Linked DNA regions of Homo sapiens: all the other regions are linked to region 5. Evidence: promoter capture Hi-C in 16 types of primary human blood cells and fetal thymus (Javierre and others, 2016). All regions are on one chromosome and are shown on one strand. Each heading gives the region's core, a stretch centred on a gene start or on the middle of the fragment in contact. The rest is flanking DNA. Distances are from core to core; before and after follow the strand shown. Region 1 holds the start of ARHGAP31-AS1 (ARHGAP31 antisense RNA 1). Region 2 overlaps GPR156 (G protein-coupled receptor 156). Region 3 overlaps B4GALT4-AS1 (B4GALT4 antisense RNA 1). Region 4 overlaps ARHGAP31 (Rho GTPase activating protein 31). Region 5 holds the start of CFAP91 (cilia and flagella associated protein 91). Region 6 overlaps GPR156 (G protein-coupled receptor 156).

Region 1 (4,036 bases), core at 971-3,470, 380 kb after region 5:
GGAGTACTGCTTATTGCTTACCCAAATGACACATTTTCACCTTTTAAGTAAAGTATAGCACCTTCATTTAGCCATTCCGCTGATCTGCAAACTGAGAGACCAAGAGACCTTGGTTTATTCAAAATTGGTTCTCTGTTTTACTAAAAGGAGTCGTCCATTAAAAGTTATGCTCAATACTAAATACCAGTTAGAATAGATACAACTGTGCTGCCTTCACCTACACTAAGGGCTAGGGGTTGAGAGTAGAGAAAGACTCCTCTCCCCACTCTTTGTTTTTCCACGTCTATCCTTAAACATTCTTTGAGGATCTGATTCTCGAAAGGGTTTTTGTTGTTTATGTTTGTTTGTTTGTTTCTTTTAATAGCTACAAATCTCCTTGGGAGGGACAAGGAACCTTGATGTGAACCACATGTGGAATACAGCAATGGTACCCAAGCTTTTTGGATTTCACAGATCAAGTTTAAAAGATTTTGGGGGATCTACCTAGGACTGCTAATTTTTTATTTTTCTGAGAGAGGACATCAACCAACAATAACTATCGTATTTCATAACAGAATGGACAATTCAAAATAACTAAAACTATGAAGCATATAGTCTTAGAATAAAGAATTGTCCTGTTCAAGAAAGGACAAGTGTAACCTTAAAATTGTTATAATACATCCGGATAAATTTATTACATAGATGGCCCTACATTTCCTATGGGTCTGCGGTTGTGAGCCACTGTTCTAGACGGCTAGGAGGGTTTGAAGTGAGTTGAGAACCTTTACTGTCCTGAAGATGGGGTAGGGGCTAGACAAGGGTATATTCTAAAAAGAGGAAAGCGCTACTGTAATAATCTTGCCTAGGATTACATACAGATGGGCATAACAGAGTCCCAGGACTTCACCCCTTCGGTGTAGAGCAGGGATGGCAGGGATGGCAAGAGCCCCACTTAGGATACCTGGAAAAAGAAATCTCCGCAGCAAAGGGTCCTTGTGCTGACTTTTCTTTTTCATTTACGAGTGTACCCTCTGTCTCCTTGGGGGCCCACCTTCTTATTCCCAGCAGGAAAGGGGAAGGGGGAGGACAGGAAATGTGGAAACCGCGTTAACAGCCTGATTGTGAACCAGCACTGCGACTGAGATGCGAGGAGGGAAGGACAAAAGTCCCTCCCTCGCTTTTCAAAAAGTAAGCCACAAAAGTTATAGAAACATTTTCTATTAAACATCATCTCCATTTTGCAGAGAACCTAAGGCTCCGAGGACTTGCCCAGGGCCATACAGCCGGTGAGCCCCAGGGCTCAGCCACAGCCCAGGTAACGAGGACAGGGCTTGCTCCAGCCACCATTGGCTGCCTCTTCGGCCTCCCTCTCTCAGGTGAGACAGTATGTCAGGTGAGGCAACTGAAACAATGTCCCTCAGTTCGGATGCATCCTCCCTCTTCGTTTCCTGTCATGAGACAGGTTTCTCCTCTTCCTGGATGTGGTTAAAAAAAAAAGAAGAAGAAAAGAAACAAAAGAAAAAAGGAAAGAAACGCAAAGCAAAGCCAAGCCCAACGTCTTGGCTCTCAGGGTTGCACCTCCTTTCTCTACCCGCGGGGTCTGGGCCGGCGGGGTGTGGCCGCAGCCCTGGGGCGCGAGAAGCCCATCCGGGCCCGAGGTGCTGGGCGGCCTGGAGCGCTGGCTGCCCCCAGGGCCGGCGGCTGTCCCTGGGGTTTCCCCGCTTCTGGGCTTTCCCCGCTTCTGGGCTCGGTGGCCGCGCGGGCGGGCGCCAAGTGACTCAGCCGTCCCCGAGGGCGTTCCGGGAAGCGGCCGGGGGCGCGGGCTTTCCTGTCGCCGCAGCGTGTGAGTCCCCAGCGCCGAAAGGGGATCAGAAACCGCTGGGCGGAGCAGCGGGAGGAAGCTGCGGCGCGCAGAGCAGAGTCAGCGCCACCGTCTTTCGAGCTGGAGCGGAGGGAACGTGGCCTTGACGTTGCTGAAGCTGAAGCGCCGGGCGGGCGCCCGGACCCCGGGGCGGGGCAGAAACGAGTCCGTTCCCTACTGCGGGGCGGGGGCAGGGCTGGAACGGGAGTTCAGGAGGGACAAGGACGTGGAAGGAGCCCAGCAGAGGGCACCCGGGACCCCCGCGGCCGGGCCGAGTTTGAAGGGAGCCCCTCTCCCCCTCCCCCTGGCGGAGCCCCCTGTAGGGTCTGACCTGGTGCCCCGCAACAGGAGCGGGAGGAGGAGCAGGCCCAGAGCGGCCGGGCCCCAGCCTAGAGGGGCGCTCGAGGGGAAGCGAGTGAAGTGAGGGCTCCGCCAGAGCAGCACCCCCTTCCCCGCCGTCCCTCCCGGACTGGCCGGTTCTCGTCAGAGATTCCTTTGTCTTCGACGCTGGTCCCTCCACACCAAGGTGGGAGGCTGAGGTGGGAGGTGGCAGAGCGGTGGGAGTGGGAGCAAGGCCGGAGCGTGGGTGGAGGCGCTGGCCGCGGGCTTGCAAGGATGGCACAAGGGAGACATCCAGGACAAACCATGGGGAACACAGCTGCCACTGAGAGAAGCTGCCCGGAGGAGGAAGGGGCTGCAAAGTTCAACCACCAGGCAAGGCAAGTCCACGAACAAAATCCCGGCTCTAAAAACAGAGCAGCAATTGTCACTGTGGGTTAGACGCTTTGAGTTACCTCTATTTTCATTTATGTCTAAGATAAATTCAAGAGACAAGGAGAAAGTCAGGAGGTTAAAATTCCAGCCTCTGGTCCCAGCTCCCTAAAGCCAGCTCCCTTCTTGTCTTTGCCAAAGTTTGCTTCTATGAATCAGTAATTAACCCCCACTTTTTTTCTTATGTCAGAGTTCCTTCAGTCACAACCAAGAGAGTTCTGACTAATAACACACCTTTTAATCCAGCAATTTTACTTCTGGGAGTTTATTCCAAAGAAATATTACATAACAAAAGAGCCATATGCCTCACAATATTCACTGTGGGCTTGTTCATAAAATTAAAACAATCATAACTATAAATGTCCAGTAATGGAGGCAGGGAATAAACTGGCATATTTATATGATAAACTACTATGGGCCGGGCGTGGTGGCTCACGCCTGTAATCCCAGCACTTTGGGAGGCTGAGGCGGGCAGATCACCCGAGGTCAGAAGTTCAAGACCAGCCTGGCCAACATGGCGAAACCCCGTCTCCACTAAAAATACAAAAACAAGTTAGCTGGGCGTGGTGGTGTGGGCCTATAGTTCCAGCTACTTGGGAGGCTGAAGCAGGAAAATCACTTGAGCCCGAGAGGTAGAGGCTTCAATGAGCTGAGATCGTGACACTGCACTCTGGCCTGGGCAACAGAGCGAGTCTCCGTCTCAAAACAAAACAAAACCTACGGAGCCTTAAAATGTTATATGTAGGGTTTTATAACTTGAATAAAGACTTCGGTTATAAGAAAGCAAGACACAAAATCATATATATATATAATATATATATACACACACACAGTGTAATCACAATATGAAAATGTACATAGAAAAAAAACACTTGAAGGAAATCCACCAAAATGTTACATCTTTGGGTGATAGAATTACATACAAGTATTTTTTTCTTTCTAAAACATTTATGTATTTCCCAATTTATCTACAATGAGGATAAGCATGTATTATTAAAAAGTATGAAAACATTGATTTTAAAATTTTACATATATAGTATATAATTATATATACATAATACATATATATATACTATATATATATATATAGTATATATATATATGTGAAATTGCTGCTGAATAGGAAATCACCGGGCCTGGGTGAAAGATGATAAAATTTACTTGAGCAATTTTTCCACTAATTGAATGATTTTTCTGCAATTTAAAAAGGGTATATGGAAGTTAAAGAGGATGGGTCAATGTTTATACATCTGTATTAGTTCGTTTTCACACTGCTGATAAAGACATACTGGAGACTGGGCAATTTACAAAAGAAAGAGGTTTAATGAACTTGCAGTTCCACATGGCTGGGGAGGCCACAAGTCATGGTGGAAGATTAAAGGCACTCAAGAGAAGAGAGAGCTTTTGCAAGGAGACTCCCGTTTT
Region 2 (4,156 bases), core at 1,568-4,067, 490 kb before region 5:
AAACTGATTGTATAGTGGTACTCAAATAAAGTGGGTCCAAAGAAAAATTATGAGAGAAACGTACCGATCAGTGATCTGGACCAAACAGACATGTGGCTGTGAAATCCAGGCAGTTGCTTGGTGACGAGGTCACCATCAGATAGTCATGGCTTATGTGCAGGAATGTGAGAATGGCCATGGGGAGGAATGGCCTGGGTTATGGGTCTTGCAGGAGTCCCACTGCTTGTGCCATTGCTCAAACTTCTGACTGCCCTGTGCAGCCGGTGCCAGGTCAGCAGTACTCTCTGCTCTGAATCAGTGTCAGCACTGGTCTCTCTAATGTAGTACCTTTCTTCAAAAAATGCTTTGTGAAGCTGCTGGTTAGCACTGTTCTTACTTCTGTAGTTAATATTCACCACATATTCCCCTTCTTTTGTGGAGAGATAAAGAAATTAAGGAAAATCACTCTCCATAAGTCCACAATCTGAAGACATGGAGGCTGAGGAGGCAGACCTGAATGAATAAGTGGATCATATGATAGGGCTAGATCTTAAATTTGGATACAGGAGACTTAAGGTAAACCACAGAAGCTTGTTGTTTATACATGTAGCTCTTTTGCTAAATATAAATGTGGCATGTGAAGATTAATAAATCTGAATGTAATGTACAGAATGTACTAGAACAGGAAAAAATTGGTGTTTACTGAGAGCTGAAGGTTACATCAAAAATCTAAAAAGTAATATTTTTGCATCATCTTAAAGTTTGCAAACAGTTTTGGCACATACATCATCTCATCTTTGCAATAACCTGTGGGGTAGATACAAAAGATGATGTTATTTTCATTTTCCAGATGAGGAAATAGGAGCCTGTTTCCTGGTCAGACAGGCTTAGTCAGCTGTGAGTGGCAGAGCTGGTGTTCCCACCTGTTACCCTCAACCCCAGTTCCATTGCTCCTAACATGATTGTATCCTGGATAAACATGGTATCAAGAATGGAGAGGCCAAGCGCGGTGGCTCACACCGGTTATCCCAACACTGTGGGAGGCCGAGGTGGGCGGATCACCTGAGGTCAGGAGTTCGAGACCAGCCTGGCCAACATGGTGAAACCCCATCTCTACTAAAAATGCAAAAATTAGATGGGTGTGGTGGTGCGTGCCTGTAAACCCAGCTACTGGGGAGACTGAGGCATGAGAATCACTTGAACCTAGGAGGTGGAGGTTGCAGTGAGCCGAGATTGCCCCACTGCACTCCATCCTGCACAATAGAACAAGACACTGTCTCAAAAAAAAAAAAAAAATGGAGAGTGAAATTTGGGAGGCTGAGGCAGGCAGATCACTTGAGGTCAGGAGTTTGAGACCAGCCTGGCCATCATGGCAAAAGCCTCTCTCTACTAAAAATACAAAAATCAGCCTGGCGTGGTGGTGGGCACCTGTAATCCCAGCTGCTCGGGGCTGAAGCAGAAGAATTGCTTGAACCTAGGAGGCAGAGGTTGCAGTGAGCCAAGATCATACCACTACACTCCAACCTGAGCAACAGAGAGAGACTCTGTCTCAAAAAAAAAAAAGGATGGAGAGTGAGAGAAAACTCAGAGACTTTGAAATAAGAAGTGAAAGAGGCCGGGCACAGTGGCTCACACCTGTAATCCCAGCACCTTGGGAGACCGAGGCAGGCAGATCATTTGAGGTCAGGAGTGCGAGACCAGCCTGGCCAACATGGTGAAACCTGTCTCTACTAAAAACACAAAAATTAGCTGGGCATGGTGGCGGGCACCTGTAATCCCAGCTACTCGGGAGGCTGAGGCAGGAGAATCACTTGAACCAGGGAGGCAGAGGTTGTGGTGAGCCAAGATCATGCCATTGCACTTCAGCCTGGGTGACAGAGCAAGACTCTGTCTCAAAAAAATTAAAAAAAGAAGAAGAAATGAAAGAAACTTGGCAATTGATTGGGTGTTTCTGATAAAGAAACAGAAGAAGGAAAAGGTGATTCCTAGGTTTCTAAAACCTGGAAGAGGTGGACAGTGAGATTATAATATAAGCAGCTGATGTTGGCAACATGCCTACTATGTGCCAGGCCATGTGCCAAGCATTTTGCCATATTGCCTTATTAAATCCTTACAACTCTTTGAAGGTAGATCGCATAATTATTATTCTCATTTTAGAAAAGGGTGTGCATGAAAGTTGCTCTCACTTTTAGAAAAAGAAAAAAATCTTCCCTCCAAAACAAGGCTAAGCTCAACTGGATTCACTGGCCTATGCTGACAGTACCTGGGGCCTGGGACAGTGGTTTGGTGTTCTTGTGTGTATGGATGTATTACAATGTCAGACACAAAGTAACTAAGCCGTGCTCCTGGCGGTTATGATGCTTGCAAATCCAGCACTGCCAAACTGTTTAGTGCCTCCTAGGTGCTTTGCCTGTGGTTAGAACAAGCTTCACTAAGTGGATAGTTTTGCCTTGGCCCTGCCTTTAAGGCAGTCTGCCATGTCATCAAGAGACATAGGTAAGAATGCTCTCCTCCTTAGTTATGATTTAAAAATAAAAGTATAACAAAGTATAATTATCAAATGACTATTAGTAGAAATGTTGCATTTATATACACTATTTAGATTACAATTCTTAAATACAATGTCTTTCCTTCTTGTTACTTGTAATTAATTAGTATCAGTCACTGTCCAGTGTGAGCCTGGCATTGCCCTTAGGTTAACCAGTTCACATCCTGAACTTCTGTTGGTGCCCAGGGTATTTGTCTGAAACCCTGATTATTTACATCTCCCTCTAACTTTCAAATTTGTCTCCAATCTCATCTAAAACTATTAATACTTGAGAAAAGGCCTTTCCCCAATTTCCTGCTTCTAATCCCTTTATCCTCTTTCTTTCTTGGAAAAGTAGAGGAAAATGGTTTACATATCAAATAAAGTAAATAGTATATGAAAAAAAAAAAACCTCTAAGGGCTCCAAACTCTGTGGATATCTACCTGCTGGTTATTTATTCACTAAGCTGCACATAGCAATCCCCTAGCAACCATAAACTTCATGCATAAAATCCCAACTCTTCTCCAATACCACCTGTTTGTAGGTAGTCATCCTTCTTTTAAAAGACTTGGGAGTTATACAAGGAATAAGTGCCAGAGTTTAGTTCTTTGTGAAAATAAATTTAAAGAAATTATAAGTTTTCACAGGGCTGTAAAGATGTTTCTTCCCAGTGGTCCTTCACTCCAAGGCTGCACTGGAGATTATGCTGGTGAGGAAGCTTTGGTCTCGTAGGTCTTTGGCCCCAAGGCAAAAGGTCATGGCTGTAAGTGTCTTTCTTCCTGATCCCCTCTAGGATTGTGAAGATGTCCAGTCCCAATCTGAACATTGTGACCTTACTGGGCAGTTGTCTCACTTACAGTAGCGCTTACCTCTTTGGGATTCAGGATGTTTTAGTGGGGAGCTCAATGGAAACTCTCATTCAGGTAGGTGAAGTTTTAAAATTTGGTTTTGACTATAAAGTTTTGATTATTTTTTTAAACCAGCTGCTCCCGTGGGTGGTGGTTTCCTTTATCCTTGGAGTGGGCACTTTTCGAGGGAATCCCAGAACACTTGGTGAGGTTCACTCTGTACCTCGTGCGCTCTGTGGGACCCAGACCCTACAGATCAGAGTGTGTGGAGAACTGATAAAGGTTCCTCTTGTGACTCTTCTGTCCCCTTCCACCCATAGACAAGACTGTCCATGCTGTGCATTGGGACCTCCCTTGTGTTTGGCCCCATTCTGGGAAAGAGCTGGCGACTCTACAAGGTGTTTACCCAAAGGGTCCCGGACAAGAGAGTGGTGAGTAGGCAGCAAGTACACAATGCTTGACTGTAGATGGTAGCTTCAGCATTGGTTAACAGCTAGAGAAGCTCATGCACATTACTGAGCCTAGCCCCTTTCAGGACATCCAAAGTTCCTGTTTCTCATTCCAAACCCTGGAATCATGCAGCCTCATAAGGCCTCAGGTCTGGAAGGCTGTGGATCAGTGCTGTTGAAGATAGGGCTTCAAACGTGGGCTCTGGTTCCTATGTACCCCAGGCCCTGTGGGGACATGTGAGCTGGCCAATACCTGGCACCAGTGTGAGGCAGAACAAGATACCCAGAGACTGTTGTTTGGCACAGGTGCGAGCTGGAAGTGAAGGGAGGAAGAGTGATTACAGAGAAACTA
Region 3 (4,155 bases), core at 420-2,919, 420 kb after region 5:
ACCATGGGCACTAGACACTGCCAAACAGCAGCGGGACACTTCCTTCCTAGAGTCACATGTGGACGAGAGACTTCACAAGGCCTGAAAGAGCCAAGTGCTGTGAGTGGAATTATTATTATACCAATGCCTGAATCTGCACAGCGTCTTGCATTAGGCTTTAAGTCTGAATCTGGATCCATTTGGGTTAAGATTTGTGTCCAGTGGCCCAGAGGGAAGAAGCCTGGCAGGGTGTGTCCCAAGGACCTCACATTGGATTCTGGGGTCCCTCTCAGCAGCTGGGTTTGAGATGATTTCTCTTGCCTCTTGTGCTGTATCTTTGGAGTTCCCACACTGGACAGAGTCTTTGGGTAGAAAAACCTTCATCTCTCACAGAATACAGCAGTCCTCAGGAAAGAGAATGAACTGTCCATTTGACTTATTTTTAATAATCTTGTTATATTTTGTTGCCTCATTCTGCCCTGCTCCCCCTCTTGCTCTGTTTCGCACCCCTTTGGGAACGTTGCCTCTTTCTAGCTGAACCAGGGAAGGAGCAGAACCCTGAGCTCAGTCTGTCTCCCCCCAGGGTCTCTGAATACTGGAGCCAGCGATTTTCTTAGGTGGGTGGGGATCTGTCCCGCCCCGTTCATTGTGTTCCATGGTTTCCTGTCCACTGCCTGTAACCCTTTACCAATCTGCCAGGCGCCTCTTAACACAAAAGGGAGGAGATGGGGGAAGGGAGTACTGAGGAAAAACATCCCTATAAATAGCCCTCTTGAACAAAATTGTTTTCCCCAATACACAGTTGTTGTTAGGCCTTGATGCCTAGTAATCTGCCTCTGTACGCTCTTCCCCTTCCATTTCAGCCCTCCCTACAGGCCTGGTTTTCCTACTCAGTCCTGTCCATGAGATGGAGGTGCTGTAAAGGTTCTTGTAAACATTCGTGTCCCCAGAGGCTCCTCCCCAGCTCTGGGCACACAGACTGTGGACTCAGGCCAACCTGGGCTCCATGCCTGACTCTGCCACTGATTTGCCCAGTGGTTGGACACATGACTTAACTCCTCTGAGCCACAGTTTTCCCATCTGTTAAATTGGAGTGATAATATCTACCTTGTTAGACTGTTGTGAGGATTAAATAAGATAATGAAAATGCCTAGCACTTTGTTTATACCGAGGTAGAAGCTTGATACATAAATGAGAGTGATTTTTATTGTCTTCTCACTGAGCGATTCTTCCATTTCCTCCATCATTATCCAGTTTATTCATGTCTTTTTCACATTTCCTTATCCTGATCCCTTGTCCCATGTTAAATATATTTATAAGACTTTAAGTTTATTTTATTGTCATTAATTTATTTTTACCATTCCCAGTTCCAACATAGTTTGAGATGATTTCCTTTACACATAAGTGCTTAGAACCTGGAAAATTTTTCAGAAAGGGCAAGACTGTTTCTTGTAAAACAGTTTTTCTTTCTTTCTCTTTCTTTCTTTCTTTCTCTTTCTTTCTTTCTTTCTTTCTCTTTCTTTCTTTCTTTCTTTCTTTCTTTCTTTCTTTCTTTCTTTCTCTTTCTTTCTCTTTCTCCTTCCTTCCTTCCTTCTTTCTTTCTTTCTTTTTCTCTTTCTTTTTTTTGACGGAGTCTTGCTCTGTCACACAGGCTGGAGTGCAGTGGTGAGATCTCGGCTCACTGCAACCTCCGCCTCCCAGGTTCAAGCGATTCTCCTGCTTCAGCCTCCCGAGTAGCTGGGACTACAGGTGCGTGCCACTGCCCCCGGCTAATTTTTGTATTTTTAATACAGGCAGGGTTTCACCATGTTGGCCAGGCTGGTCTCGAACTCCTGACCTCAGGTGATCCACCCGCCTTGGCTTCCCAAAGTGCTGGGATTACATGCCCGAGCCACCGCATCCGGCCATAAAACAGTTTTCTAACACGGAGGGCACATTGCTTTTTGTGGGCTATTTGGGAAATGGTTTTGATTGTGGCTCACACTTTTCTTACATCTCTGGTATCCCAGGACCTGTTTTCATTCCCATCTCGGGAATACAGTATGCAGAAGTTAGTTTGGAGACAAGAGTTATAACAGGTCAAACATACAAATTACCCTCGATATATATTCGCTCCCCTAAAGTTGTGAACATTTGTAAGTTGGATAATATAGGCCTGTTGTTTTTCATTCTACCTTTTGGATATATGTTTCCAAGCTTGTGGTGGGGGGGTGGGTAGAAGTGGGGAGAAGGGGTTCCACTTTGTAATCAAAATCACACTTGAATCTTAACATTTATTTCAGAGAATATTCTTCTTTTTTCAACCTTCAATACACAAGTATTTTAATCTCCATTTTGATCTTAAAAGAAGCTAGTCAAATACACACAGATCTCATTTACTTATGTGCTTTCTCAAAGTAAGATGCATATGTATGCATGTAGGTATGTATATATCTATATCTATTTCTATATCTGCATAACTCACATTAATTTGATTTTGTGGAACCTGATTATTTAAAGCAGCCACAGGTTTCTGTTCTAATTCTAGGTATTTAGCAGAACTTTTCCTTATTTAAAAATTTTTTTTGAGACAGGGTCTGTCTCTGTCACCCAGTCTGGAGTGCAGTGGCACGATCTCGACTCACTGCAGCGTCCACCTCACAGGTTCAAGCAATTTTCGTGCCTCAGCCTCCCAAGTAGCTGGGGCCACAGGCCTGTGCCACCATACCTGGCTAATTTTTATATTTGTAGTAGAGACGGGGTTTCACCATGTTGGCCAGACTGGCCTCAACTCCTGACCTCAAGTGATCTGCCCGTCCTGGCCTCCCAAAGTCTTGGGATTACCAGCATGAGCCACTGTACCCGGCCAGGTATTTAGCAGAACTTTTTCAATTGGGTATCCACCTGGATGTTTTAAAAAATTTTCTATAATATTAACTTGCCTAGATTTACTCTTGAAAAGGATTCCCCCATACACCCACATTGCTCAGATAGTCCTGATTTCAAACATTCTGCCCTATAGTCAAACCATGTGCCAAAAGATGTGTTCTGATTTTCGCTTTAGAAAACATGGCTAATGTTTTGAGTTGAACTGTGTGCCACCAATTTCAAATGTTAAAGTCCTAACCCCTAGTACCTCAGAATATGACCTTATTTGGAAATAGGATGGGTACTACTAATTAGTTAATATGCAGTCAAACTGGAGTAGGGTGAGTCACGAATCCAGTATGGCCGGTGTCATTATAAAATGGGAAATGTGGACATCCTCCCTGTCTACTTACACAGGGAGAATGACATGTGAAGATGTGAAGATGAAGGCAGAGATTGGAGCGACGCCTCAAGCCAAGGAGTGTCAGACGTTGCCAGCAAGCCACCAGAAGCTAGGGAAGAGACATGGAACAGATTCTCTCTCATAGCCCTCAAAAGGAACCAACCCTGCTGGCACTTTGATCTCAGACTTCTAGCCTCCAGAAATGTGAGATGATAAATTTCTATTGTTTAAACCACCTGGTTTGTGACACTGGCAGCCCTAGCAGATGAATACAGCCAACATAATTAAGGAACAGAACTAGCCCCCAGTCCTGCAATGTAATCTATTACTTTAATGATCGAATTGGTAGCAGTCAAACCTCAGAAGTCTTTCTTGGTGGAGCCCCCAGTAAATACCTGTATCTCTAGCTGGCACTGAGATTAAGCAATTTTATACAAATGCTGGTTTCAGCAAGGAGCTCCAGTGGAGGTAAAGGAGGATAGTTTCGGAAACAGCCAAGGATTCACCTGACTATAGAGGTTGCTGGGAGGTGGGAGGTTGCGGGGCTCCTTCCCACATGCTTTCATGTTTTCAAAGACTGTTCTTGTAGCACCAGAGACAGGAAGCTCTGTGGAGCCACTCTATCAGCCCTGTAGCCTCCCTGAGCTGGCTTCTCTGGCTCTGGCTCCCTGATCCTCCATCCCCACCTATGCCTCTGCAAGGGACTCAGTGAAGGAGCTATCTCCCTGCTACATTCTGGGAGCTGAGCACTGAAATTTTTAAGGAAATGTGCAAAGTCTGTTTACATACAACATTTATACATTTATTTGGCCAGCCAGTCAATAATTTACTAAGCATTGTCTGTATGCTAGGCCTTGGATTCGGTGCTGAGGACACAAAGTTGGAAAGACACCATCCAGGCCCTCATGAAGCCCTCGTTTTTGTGG
Region 4 (4,063 bases), core at 1,340-3,839, 400 kb after region 5:
ATGGTAGTCTATCAGCAAACAAACCATATGCTCAACCACCCTGCTACACACTGCGGATAGGTTAATTGGTTTCACTATACTGGATCTATTAAGGCATGAAAAAAAAAACTAACAGACTTAGTTTTTTTTTTCTAAAAATAAAGATTGAAACAAAGGGCATTTATGAAAAAGCCAATGACTCAAGACACACTATTCCTAAAATAATTTTAGAAATGTTTCTTTCTGATTTAAAAGATAAAAATGTATCTTCAGTGTTGAAATGTTGGGCAATATAAAAGTATAATGAAGAAAATAAAAATCGTGTCGTTTCACATAGCTGCTTCTTTCTGTGTGCTAAGTCAGTGTTTCTCAAAGTGAGATCAGTAGGCCAAGGATATTAGATCACCTGGAGCTCATCTTTAAAATGTGGATTTCCCACCCCAGACCAACAAAAGTAAAATCCCTGAGGAACTGGACCTCAGAATCCTGACTTGCAGCAGCACTTTACAGCTTGCTGCCCTATAAACTATGGAACCCATTCGGTAGAATCATATGTTCTCCATCGACCCAGACATTACACAACCTATGCAAATACCCGTTTGAAAACTTTTTTTTTGAGACAAAGTCTCACACCGTCCCCCAGGCTAGAGTGCAGTGGTGCGATCTCGGCTTACTGCAACTTCCACCTCCCAGGTTCAAGCAATTCTCGTGCCTCAGCCTCCCATGTAGCTGGGATTACAGGCACGCGCCACCATGCCCAGCTAATTTTTGTAATTTTTTTAGTAGAGATGGGGTTTCACCATGTTGGCCAGGCTGGTCTTGAATTCCTGACCTCAAGTGATCCACCCACCTAACCTCCCAAAGTGCTATGATTACAGGCCTGAGCCACCACACCCGGCCCCATTTGAAAACTTTTACTAGATGTCCATTTTGTCTCAAGGAGTCCAAAACTGGATTTGAAGAGTATCTCTAGTAGTATACTAAAATTGACTAATATTTAATTTTAAAATTAAAATTTAAAAGCAAGAATTACATTTTTAGTCTTTCTTATGCCCAGTAAAGTTTGAGAAATGCTGCCCAAGGATTAACAAGAGAGGTCCAGAATTCTCGGACTCTGAATTTAAAACTCATACTGTACCCAGAGAACTAGCCCTCCTTTCCATCTGAAACCAAATTGTCTTTAGAGTTACTAAAGAAAGGAAAACTGAGGAAACCATGCCCCATTTGGAAGTCAGGCTTAGGAGGGGGGAAAACAGGACGTTTACAGATTACCTGAAGGGGATATTCTCCTGGCCTTTAGCTATAGGCTCTGTGTCCAGGGCAGCTACAGCTTTAATGCAGCCTCAGAGGGCCCCCAACCCAAGCAGCGTTTCTGTCCTCAGCTCTGAGCTTGATTCAGAGACCTGCATTTGGCTTTGCTTTTCCAGAAAGCAACATGGCTCTTCTCCATTAGCACCAAGCTCATATTCTAGCTATTAGCCAAACAAAGGATCTTCCAAATATAGGCCCCAAAAAGCATGTGCACTTTGAAGGCCACAATAAAGCTTAAATAGCTAAAACTTGTTAAAAAGAAAGCCAACAATTGTCGCCAAAAGTATGAGTCCTTAGCAGAACAGCAAGACAAAAGCCAGAAAGAGGAACAAAAATATGCATTGTAGGGGAGGGGCTGGCAGGGAGGTGTAGATTTATATGGAAGAGTTGACATCATTGTTTCCCAATAATACCCAGCATGCAGGAAACAGATGGGAAAGAAGTGGTGGAAGGGGCTACTTATGGTAACAGGGCATGCTCTCTGTTTAGAATCCTGCCATTTGGAACCTAAGTGTTTTACTTTGAAAAACTGGGGATGGGAACTCAATTGCCAGAAGTTTTATTAAGTCTAACTAAATCCTACTGAACTTATCACCTTGGCAATGCATGGCAAAATGGAGCTCTGCATATCAGACCTGTTTTACTGCTAGCATAGCTGTGTCTCGTTGGGTCAAGAGCAGACAAAGCCATGGAAGGAGAATTTAATGTTGCACAGACACAGCTGGAGTCTTGCTTCTGCCGCTTCCTGGCTGGGTGACAGGAGGCAAGTTACTTAACCTCTCTGAGTTGGTCCTTCTTCATAAGATGGGGACAAAACAGAACTTTCCATATAGTGGAAGACTCTGCAGTTGGACATTTATGCCATACAGATAGATTTAATCAAGAAACAGAGGGTCAGTTAGCACCATTTTTTAAAAGTTTTATTTTATTTTATTTTATTTTATTTTATTTTATTTTATTTTATTTTGAGACAGAGTCTCACTCTGTCACTCAGGCTGGATTGCAGTAGCGCCATCTTGGGTCAGTGAAACCTGTGCCTCCCGGGTTCAAGCAATTCTTTCGCCTCAGCCTCCCAAGTAGCTGGGATTACAGGCGCCCACCACCAAGCCCAGCTAATTTTAACAGAATTCTCCATTCTTCTGTGCTTGGGCAGGGGATAGACAAAGCCAAGATAAGCCAAATCAAAGGTCACTCTTGTTATTATCAGCTGGTTTGCCCTCTCCTGAGGTTAGGTTCACTCCCCCTGCAGCTGAAGGCAGGCTTCTGTCACTGCAGCCAGTCTCAGCCTCACCACTCTAAGTACCCTCAGCTGCCTTTCCCAGATTTTAAGCCCCTTCTTCCCCAGGGTGCAGAAGGGTGTGACCAATTCCAAGTGTCAGGCAAATTCCTGTGGTTTTCTGCCTCTAGAGACCAACCACCCCATCCTCCCATCCTCCCATAGCTGTCATAACTCGGTCAGATGATGTTTGTTTTATAATTTTACTGATTTTTCCCCTGGTGAAAACAACCCACTCTGTCTGATGGTTCTTTCTCACTTGGCTGCCTCACATGTGCACATCCCCTGCTTGCTCATCCTCTACAGCCCTCATTCCATTCTTCTTTGTACTTCTTTTAGTTGTTTTCCCTCTTTGAATCCTTTAGGTCAGGAGCAACTTGAGAGCATCTCTGTAAACCCAACAGTGTCTGGCACGTTAGAATCCCATTACATACTTATTGCATTGAATTGAAAGTCCCATTCCAGATAGGATCTGATTAAAACATGAAAAGAGGCCGGGTGCGGTGGCTTACACCTGTAATCCCAGCACTTTGGGAGGCTGAGGCAGGCGGATCACGAGGTCAGGAGTTTGAGACCAGCCTGGCTAACATAGTGAAACCGTGTCTCTATTAAAAATATGAAAAATTAGCCAGGCATGGTGGTGGGTGCCTGTAATCCCAGTTACTTGGGAGACTAAGGCAGGAGAATCGCTTGAACCCAGGAGGTGGAGGTTGCAGTGAGCCGAGATCGCACCATTGTATTCCAGCCCGGGCGACACTGCGAGACCCCATCTCAACAACAACAACAACAACAACAACAAAAAACATGAAAAGAGCTGGGGAAAGAAATATGCATAATCACACAAATTAGCTCAATTGCCTTCACATAGCCTATAGATTTATGTACGGTTTGCCGGAATCCTAGCTTATATGTCAAGCTGTTTTCTAGTGTCTATGACAGCGAGAGCTGGTATATGTTGCTTTTGAGGGGAGGGGTGACATTCACCCCTCTCCCTCCAGTAGTGGTGGGAAGGGGGCCTACAAGGCATTCTGGGCCAGCATCAGGCCATGGGCGTGGTACCAGGGCCTGGTATGCATCAACCAAGCTTAAACGAGAACAAAGAGTGCCTGAGACTCGATCCCAGAAACTCAGTTGGTTCTGGGGCCTTGCCAAGAATGTGGTTCACACCAAGGAGTGATTGGTGAGGAACTAGGAAAAGGCAGTGTTTCTGGGGAGTTCTGTGCAAAGCCTGGGTCAGTTTCTATTTGGGAGTAGCTATGAACCCCTGTGGGGACCATTAAGCAATTGGATTCCTGATAATCCAGCACATCAGCAATGTGCCTTATCCTGAGCTTCCTAGAAGGGCACAAACACTGGTTTTCTGAAGAAGGAAGTAGGGTCAATGAATCAACTGCTGCATGTCTCACATGGGGCTCACCCTGAGAGAGCCACAGTGAGCTACCAGATCTGCCTTCGGGGGAACTCACCATCGATTTGCATACATAAAGTGTTAGAGAA
Region 5 (4,105 bases), core at 1,294-3,793:
TAGCTAGTTAGATATCTGAAGAACATTCTAGGATGGGAGCATGCCTGATACATCTGAAGAACAGCAAAGTCCCTAGGATGGGAACATGCCTGATACGTCTGAAGAATAGCAAAGAAACCAGGACAAATGAGGCAGAATGAAGGAGGGGAAAGAGAGTAGATAAGAGGCCAGAGAAGTAACTAGGGAACTAATCACATAGGGCTTCATAAGGAAGGGTAAAAGAACCTGGAAAGGTGTTCATCTTTGCACCACCACAGTTCTGTCAAGGTGGAAACCTGGCCCAAGGCCAGTCAATTCATTGGCCAGCCAACAACCAATCTTAAATTTCTAACTTAAATTTTCAGCTACAATACACAAAGACGCTATACAATTGGTGGTGAGCTTTAGGGCTAATTAGTCAAGAAGCACGCCACCCTAGTCCCTATCATAGTAAGAGAAATCCATACACAAGAGGCTTTCTGTCAGATGGAAGGAAGCAAGCATAGAGATGTGTTGCTTAATGATGGGGATACGTTCTTAGAAACGGGTTATGAGGTGAGCTTATCGTTGTGTAAATATCAGAGGGTACTTAACATAAACCTAGCTGGTATAGCCTACTCCACACCTAGGCTATATAGTATAGCCTATTGCTCCTAGGCTACAAACCCATACAGCATGTTATTGTACTGAATACTGTAGACAGTTGTAACACAATGGTATTTGTATATCTAAACACAGAAAAAGTGATGCATTGGGCTACAATGTTATGACAGCTACAATGTCACGAAGTAATTGGAGTTTTTCAACTTCATTATAATCTTATGGGACCATCCTTATACATGTAGTCCACTGTTGACCGAAATATCATTACTTGGGGCTTGATTATACATAGAAAGAAGGCTAGAGTTGCCAGATAAAATACAGGATGCCCAGTTAAATTTAAATTCAGATACACAATGAATAATTTTTTAGTATAAATGTGTTCCAAAATATTGCACAGGACAAAAATTTATACTAAAATATTATTCATTATCTGAAATTCAAGCTTAACGGTGCCTCTTGTATTTTTATTTGCTAAATGTGGCAACCCTAACAAGGTGAAAGGTCATAAGGTCAAAGAAAGAAAGCAGGAGAGCACAGCATCTTAGTTCTGATTTTCCCCATCCAGGTTCTCATCCGCCCTGGCTATACTTCGCTTCCTGTCCATGACTAGCGGCGAGATTGTTTTATAACAATCCAAACTTTTATTTGATCTACTCTGAGTGAATTTCTGTTCTTAGCAAGGGACATGGAAACATTTAGCAATTCCTCTGCAAAAGAGACACTTCGGCATCAAAGAAACAACCAGCTTAATAAATACTTTGGGGAGATGTTTGTCCTCCTTCTCAAATTACCCGTGAAAAAAAAACATGGTGATGTGTTTACAGGAGCTAACTTGATTTATTTCACAAAACCAAGAGTAAATACAGAAAAACACTGGCCAGAATATGTCAGCAATCATTACACAGCCTCTATCTAGGAATGTGTACCCTAGATTCCCACACAAAGGAGACTGGGATTCCCAGAGGCAACACCACATTGCTGAAAGCAATGCAAGGTTCAGGTGAAAAACCTGGGATTGCAGAGGGCAAAATTGGAAAAAATCATGCTTATAGCTGGTTACAGTTCTTGCCACGGCAAATTCAATAAACATTTATTTATTGAAGCGCCTAGTATATGTATCAGCACTAGAATAGGTGCTCAGAAGGCTACAAAAATGTGTAGAACAGGAACTTAAGGAACTCAAGGAGCGTGGAGAGAGAGAAAACATAAAATGGACAACCAAGCCGTTAAAATAAACTGGGGTTTTATTGGCCCAAGAGGAGCCAGCGGACCCAGTCTATAAGCAATGCTTTGACGCAGAAGTTAAAAAAAACAAACAACAACAACAACAAAAAACCTAAAAACAAGCATGGGATAAACTGGCACTTCTTTTCGCCCAACTTGGATTTGCCCAGAGAGTTGGAGAGAAAAGATCATTTTTGTAGGGCATTTTATGCAGGAACGTTGAGTGAATCTCCGAGTGTACAAATCGTTGCACACTTTCTGGGTACCAAAACGCCCGGAACAGGTTTCAGGAAAATCGCCCCCCGAAGCGGAGCGCACCCGCGCCTTTCGATGTACCCGAACCCCCGACCCCAACCTGAGTGCGGCCACCTGGAGGGCTCGGAGCTGCCCCCACCCGACCAAGGACAACCGTGGGCAAGAGGTCAGTCCAGAGGGTCGTGTTTCGTTCGCCATGCCCCTGGCCAGGTCCCACCATCTGGGAGCCCACCTGGCCTAGGAGGCGACGGACGCGGAGGAAGGTCTGCGGCGGTCCTTACCGTACAGAAAATCATACGCTCGATTGGAGGAGATGTGGCTCCCAGCCCGCGACCTCTCCCGGTACCGAGTTTGAGACACCTGCGGCTGGGCCTGGGGCTCCTCGATGGTTACTGCGTGGCTCATGGTGCCGCCTCTTTCCTCCCGCCAGCAAGGGACCAGCGGGTCAGGCCTGGCTACTGCGTGCACGTCGCTATGGTAACGGCCGCCGGCGCGCAGGGATAGGGGGCGGGGCAAGGAGGAGGGAGGAGGCCGCGGGGCGGGGCCGAAGAGGAGTGGAGAGAAGTGAAAGCAGGAGTGGCCAGGCCAGGGTCAGGAGGAGAGTGGAGGGGAAGATGAGAAGAGAGGGGAGGGGCAGGATGGGGGAGGAAAAGGCTGGCTTCCCTCTATACTCCAGAGCCAGCGGGGAGGCTGGGAGAAAGCTACTCTTAAGTCATTGATTTGCCAGTTACACCTCGTAGCCTCTCGGAAATCCCTGGGAGATCTCAGAACCTTCTAGAATAATTGGGTGCCTCCCCGCCCCTCCCCCCAGCCCTTTTCCAGGGGGCTTGTCCCGAGAGCTGCGGAATCCAGTCAGGTTCCTAAATGTTGCTCCTTAGCACGCTGTGAACTTTGCCCCACACTCATTAGCATCAGTGTTTAGGATGGGTTAGGACATCAGTAACTGTTGATCTGAGACTGCTGACCCTTTCTGAGTCCTGGGCATTAAATAACAGAAGATGATGTGGGGTAGGCACTGGCTCTGCTTTTGAAAACTATTTATAATGGAAAATTTTAAACATAAGCAAAAGTGATTCTACTTTTAATAACAAACCCTCAAGTAACCCATCCCTCAGAATCAACATTTAGCAACATTTTGCCAATCAAGTTTCAGTTTCCTTCCCCTCTTTTTTAAAGAAATCCTAGACATAATATTATTTTACCCTTAAATTAGTCTGCATCTCAAACTGACATAGATTTTAAAAATTTAACTACCGTTATCATATCTAACAAAATTAACAATAATTCCTTAGTACTATAAATAATTCCAATTTTCCTGTTTGAGTCCAAATTATCTTTTATAGTTGGTTTGTTCCAGTCAAGATCCAAAAAAAGTCCTCATGTTGCATTTTGGTATGTCTCTTAAGTCTTTTATCCTAGAGCAGTGAATTTCTAATCCTTTCAATAATTCTCTATTATTACCAGAGGTTCTTCTATAAAAGGAATCTTTTCATACCAACTCATTGGTTATCCTGAGATAACCAGGATAATCTCATAGAGGAAAGACTGGGTAAATGCTGGATTTGTTCTTTTTAATTATGAAATTTCAGAGACATGAGTTGGTGCCCTACCAAACTCCAGAGTTAACCACAAAGTTTTTGTTTGTTTGATATCATTATGAATGCATGCATTTTTTACAGATCTGATGTTTTAATCCGTTATGATCATTATTATTTATTACACTCAGATTATTAAAGCTAATGGCATGCCTTAGAGTTGGCTTCTTTGTCCTTTAATGTTGAGACGAGAAGTCTTCTTCCGATCAAAGGTTTTTCTCGATCGAAGGGTTCATGGTCTCACAGGCTTCAAGGAATGAAGCCGTGGACCACAGTGGCAAGTGTTACAGCTTCACTAGAGAAATGCGTGGACCCAAAGACTGTGCGGTGGCAAGATTTATTAAAGCCAAAGCAAAAGTAAAGGGAAAGCGAAAGTAAAGCTTCCACGTGGTGGAAGGGAACCTGGAAGGGTTGCCATTTCTGGTTTGGGTATCTTATGTTTATATCCC
Region 6 (4,051 bases), core at 384-2,883, 470 kb before region 5:
ATAAGGAAAAGACTAAGAGAATATAGTTATAATACTAGGAAGATACAGCTCTTTCCATGTAAGATTATAAATTCTGGAGGAAATGATCTATGAAGGGAATCTGCAGTTCACAAGAAGAGGACTACAAATGTCTAAAGATTTAGAGAAGCTGCCTTCCTCTGGAGTAGAAGTGTTTAGAAGATACCGGACTTGTCAATAGAATTCAAAGGATATTGTCTCTTCTCAACTAAAGCAAACTATCATGAAAAAAAGCTAATCTTAATAAAATATTGAATAAGGATTAAAAATATGGTATTAAATTTAAAATCCCAATAGAAGCATTGACTGGGCAATTAGACACTACAAAATATTGAATTAGTGAATTACTTTAAGGAAACAGAAAATAAGGAAACAAATGAGAGACTAGATAAGAAAATATGGAAAATGGCCAGATGCAGTACCTCATGCCTGTAATCCCAGCATTTTGGGAGGCCGATGTGAGCGGATCACCTGAGGTCAGGAGTTCGAAACCAGCCTGACCAACATGGTGAAACCCCATCTCTACTAAAAATACAAAAATTAGCTGGGCGTTGTGGCATCCATCTGTAATCCCAGCTACTAGGGAGACTGAGGCAGGAGAATCGCCTGAACCCAGGAGGCAGAGGTTGCAGTGAGCCAAGATCACGCCATTGCACTCCAGCCTGGGCAACAAGAGCGAAAATCTGTCTCAAAAAATAAAATAAAAAGAAAAAAATAAAATATGGAAAACATCTAGGAATACAATTGAGAGCTGATAGGAGTCTCTGAAAGAGAACAAAATAATTTGGGGCAGAAGTCATTATCAAAGAGCTATCAGAGGAAAATGTTTCTGAACAAACAAAGCCTTGGTCAGAAAACTGAATGAATTGGCAATCTCCATGATGGCGCCCTGCTTACTGCTCCTCTCTCCATCCTCACCTCTCACCACTGCCCCCTTGCATCGTAAGCCTCAGCCACATCACTTCCCCTTTGCCTGGTGTTTGAGTCCTCAGCAGCTAGGACAATTGTGACATCTGGGTACTCTACACACAAAAATGCAGAATGAAGTGCTGCTTGAAATCTGCCTTCCAGGTTTTCACTAAGCAACAAACACTTGATTTGTTGAATTGGGAATGGAAATGGAATGATTATGAGGTACAGGAATTGGGTGGATGGACTGCACTGGCCTTGCTTTCCTTCTATCTCACTCCCTCTTTCCCTCCTAGCTTTCTTAAGCTTCCTTTCTCTTACTCTGTCTTTCCTCTTCCATTTTCTCCCTTGTGTTTTTTTTTTTTCTCCTCTGGAACTAACTGACCATGATGTGAAACTAAAAAATATATTTTGTAGTCTGTTGTATTTTAGGTTTAGATGGTAAGTAGTTCTTTTTCAAAATATAAAAGAAACTGAGGTTTGTTAGGTTTCTGTGTGTTTCCCTCTGGCTCCGAGGTCTTTGGTAGAAGAACGATTCTCCCTGTGATACTTGCACTGTGTATTCCTAGAAGATAATTTGGGAAAGTAATTTGAGTAAATTTGGGAAAGTGGGTGAGGGGAACTATCTGGGTAAGGGTTGGGGGTTGCAGCAAAACGGGGTTCCTTCTTGCCAGTGAGCTTTCAGACATGACTGTGATGGGAGGAGTTTGTGAAAGCAAAGGCACAGATACCCCCAGGGCAGCGAGGCAGCGCCAGAGAGCGGGTGAAATGGATGACATTACTAAGGAGACAAGGGGCCCAAGAAGCCTTCTTTACACAGGCACTCAGGAAATGCCTGAGTGTTTATGCCAAGCACTGAGGTCATCACTAGAAGTCAGCCAGCCGCTGCTGTTCTGACCTGAATATGACCCATCCCCCAGCCCTCTGCTCCCTCAGAGAGGCAGGCAGGTCCTAAGGTAGGACATTGTTTTCTCTCTCCTCTAACCCCGAAAGCATTTCATCTGCTCCTCCCTGAAGATGTGCAGGCCTTTCTAATCTGCCTTATAATTATATGTATATGTCCCAGCACCCCTACTAGACCAGTGAGCATTTTAAAGAAAGCTTCCTTCATTTGTTCATGCATGCATCCATCCATCCACTTATTAACTGCTGGGTACATGCACTTAAACACAGAGTCCGCCTCTAGGTCTAGTGGGGAGCAAACATGAAAGGAATTATCATACATGTGTTAAGAGCTTTGAGAAAGGCCTTCCCCAGCCCATCTGAGAACTCAGTGGCACCTTCTCAGAAAATGAGGCTGGGCATGGTGGCTCATGCTTATAATCCCAGCACTTTTCAAGGCTGAGGCGGGTAGATCGCTTGAGCCCAAGAGTTCGAGAGCAACCTGGTCAACATGGTGAAACCTGGTCTCTGCAAAAAATGCAAAAATTGGCTAGACGTGGTGGCTCACGCCTGTAATTCCAGCAGTTTGGGAGGACAAGGCGGGCAGATCACGTGAAGTCAGGAGTTTGAGACCAGCCTGGCCAACATGGTAAAACCCCGTCTCTACTAAAAATACAAAAAATTAGCTGGGTGTGGTGGCGGGCGCCTGTAATCCAGCTACTTGGGAGGCTGAGGCAGGAGAGTTGCTTAAACCGGGAGACAAGGGTTGCAGTGAGCCGAGATTGTGCCATTGCACTCCAGCCAGAGACAGAGTGAGACTGTCTCAAAAAATATAAAGCAAAAATTAGCCAGGCATGGTGGTGCATGCCTCTGGTCCCAGCTACCCAGGAGGCTGAAGTAGGAGGATCACCTGAGCCCAGGAGGTTGAGGCTGCAGTGAGCTGTGATTGTGCCACTGCACTCCAGACAGAGTAAGACCCTGTCTCAAAAAAAAAAAAAAAGAAGGAAGGAAGGGAGAGAGGGAGGGAGGGAAGGAGGGAGGTAGGAAGGAAGGAAGGAAGGAAGATGAGGTGTTCGAGCTCAGTCTTGAAGGAAACATAAGAGTTCATTGAAGAGATGGGGGAAAGTAGGTGGCATTTCTGATGGAATAACATCATGACCAGAGGCAGGGAGGCTAGAAAGAGAGTAGCGTATGTTTGGAGCACCATGGTCTTTGTTATTTTTGAAGCACAAATGGAAACCAGGGGGAGAATGACAGGACTGGGGAGAGACACACCTGGGGAGCTTCTGAGGCCCTGCTGGACCCTGTTAAAGAGTTGACATTTAGTCCCACCATATTAGTTTCCCACTGCTGCTATAACAAATTCCCACAAGCTTAGTGGCTTAAAATAATACAAGTTTATTATCTTAAAATTTTGGAGGTCAGAAATCTGAAATAGGTCTTATTTGGCTAAACTTAAGGTGTCAGGAAGTCTGTATTCCCTCCAGAGATGCAAGGGGAGAATCTGTTTCCTTGTCTTTTTCAGCTTCTAGAGGCCGTCTGCATTCTTGTGCTTATTGTCCCCTCCTCCACCTTCTAAGCCAGCCAGGTTCAAATCTGCCAGAAGAGATTCAAATCTTTCTCTCTCTCGCCCCTGTTTCCATTGTCACATCTCCTTCTCCAACTCTGGCTCTCCTCCCTCCCTCCTATAAGGATTCTTGTGATTACATTGGGCCCACTTGGATAACCCAGAATAATCACCCCTCTTGAAATCCTTAATTACATTTGCAAAGTCCCTTTTGCCACATAAGGTCACATATTCACAGGCTCCAGGAATTAGGATGAGAGAGAACATCTTTGAGAAGCCACTGTTCAGTCTGCCACACCCCCATAGCCCAGAGGCTCAGAAAACCAGAATCTGCCTGTCCTTCTGGAGGAAGGCAGAGGAGAGGCCCTGAATTGTGAAATTCATAGCTGGATTCCAGAAACCCTGAAGGGTTGAGCCTTAAGGAGTATCTTCACAAATGAGGAATGAAGGGCTAGAGTAATCAAGGGGTATCTTGGCTCCACTTGGCCAATTTAGAGACAGGAAGACCAAAAGCCCTGGGAGGGCCCTTACGCCAGTGCTGAGCTGCTCCTCTGCCAGCCCTGCAGAGAGGCCTCAGTCTGGGAGTGCTGGGGGAGATGAAGGAAAAGCTGTACTGCAGCACTGCCAGGGTCAGTGTGAGGAGAATAACCCTAGGAGGTCTGATTCATCCACCCA

What was found. Contacts are between HindIII fragments. The CHiCAGO score rates a contact against its expected background, and 5 or more counts as called.
Region 1: a contact is called between the fragment with the promoter of ARHGAP31-AS1 here and the fragment with the promoter of CFAP91 in region 5, in 1 of 17 cell types (monocytes). The highest score is 6.1, in monocytes.
Region 2: a fragment that was not itself captured here is called in contact with the fragment with the promoter of CFAP91 in region 5 in 1 of 17 cell types (endothelial precursors); the score reaches 7.5 in endothelial precursors.
Region 3: a fragment that was not itself captured here is called in contact with the fragment with the promoter of CFAP91 in region 5 in 1 of 17 cell types (erythroblasts); the score reaches 5.7 in erythroblasts.
Region 4: a contact is called between a fragment that was not itself captured here and the fragment with the promoter of CFAP91 in region 5, in 1 of 17 cell types (monocytes). The highest score is 5.3, in monocytes.
Region 6: a fragment that was not itself captured here is called in contact with the fragment with the promoter of CFAP91 in region 5 in 2 of 17 cell types (neutrophils and endothelial precursors); the score reaches 6.4 in neutrophils.

The regions. Positions count from the first base shown.
Region 1 is chr3:119,320,944-119,324,979 of GRCh38, reverse strand. It overlaps ARHGAP31-AS1 (ARHGAP31 antisense RNA 1), which reads left to right and starts at 2,220. Exons shown (of 2, transcript NR_046748.1): 1 at 2,220-2,366. The region is part of intron 1 of ARHGAP31 (Rho GTPase activating protein 31); the gene reads right to left. RefSeq lists enhancers at 835-1,691, 1,692-2,549 and silencers at 1,513-1,862, 1,913-2,272. The HindIII fragment of the contact is 4,466 bases long and covers 439-4,036 here.
Region 2 is chr3:120,192,569-120,196,724 of GRCh38, reverse strand. It overlaps GPR156 (G protein-coupled receptor 156), which reads left to right. Exons shown (of 10, transcript NM_153002.3): 4 at 3,301-3,430; 5 at 3,676-3,786. Among named protein-coding and RNA genes, the nearest start is that of GPR156, 91 kb to the left of the region's middle. The HindIII fragment of the contact is 820 bases long and covers 2,408-3,227 here.
Region 3 is chr3:119,275,973-119,280,127 of GRCh38, reverse strand. All of the region lies in intron 3 of B4GALT4-AS1 (B4GALT4 antisense RNA 1), which reads right to left. Among named protein-coding and RNA genes, the nearest start is that of ARHGAP31, 16 kb to the left of the region's middle. The HindIII fragment of the contact is 1,017 bases long and covers 1,161-2,177 here.
Region 4 is chr3:119,303,089-119,307,151 of GRCh38, reverse strand. The region is part of intron 1 of ARHGAP31 (Rho GTPase activating protein 31); the gene reads right to left. Among named protein-coding and RNA genes, the nearest start is that of ARHGAP31, 11 kb to the right of the region's middle. RefSeq lists a silencer at 1,536-1,830 and an enhancer at 4,020-4,063. The HindIII fragment of the contact is 2,127 bases long and covers 1,526-3,652 here.
Region 5 is chr3:119,701,460-119,705,564 of GRCh38, reverse strand. It overlaps CFAP91 (cilia and flagella associated protein 91), which reads right to left and starts at 2,543. Exons shown (of 18, transcript NM_033364.4): 1 at 2,343-2,543. The coding sequence starts at 2,466. LOC105374064 (a long non-coding RNA gene) reads left to right here and starts at 2,522. Exons shown (of 3, transcript XR_924391.4): 1 at 2,522-3,069. RefSeq lists enhancers at 2,225-2,284, 2,335-2,384, 2,378-3,057, 3,724-4,105 and a silencer at 2,495-2,664. The HindIII fragment of the contact is 3,012 bases long and covers 1,027-4,038 here.
Region 6 is chr3:120,175,042-120,179,092 of GRCh38, reverse strand. The region is part of intron 8 of GPR156 (G protein-coupled receptor 156); the gene reads left to right. The region is part of intron 1 of LOC105374065 (a long non-coding RNA gene); the gene reads right to left. Among named protein-coding and RNA genes, the nearest start is that of GSK3B-DT, 82 kb to the right of the region's middle. The HindIII fragment of the contact is 795 bases long and covers 1,236-2,030 here.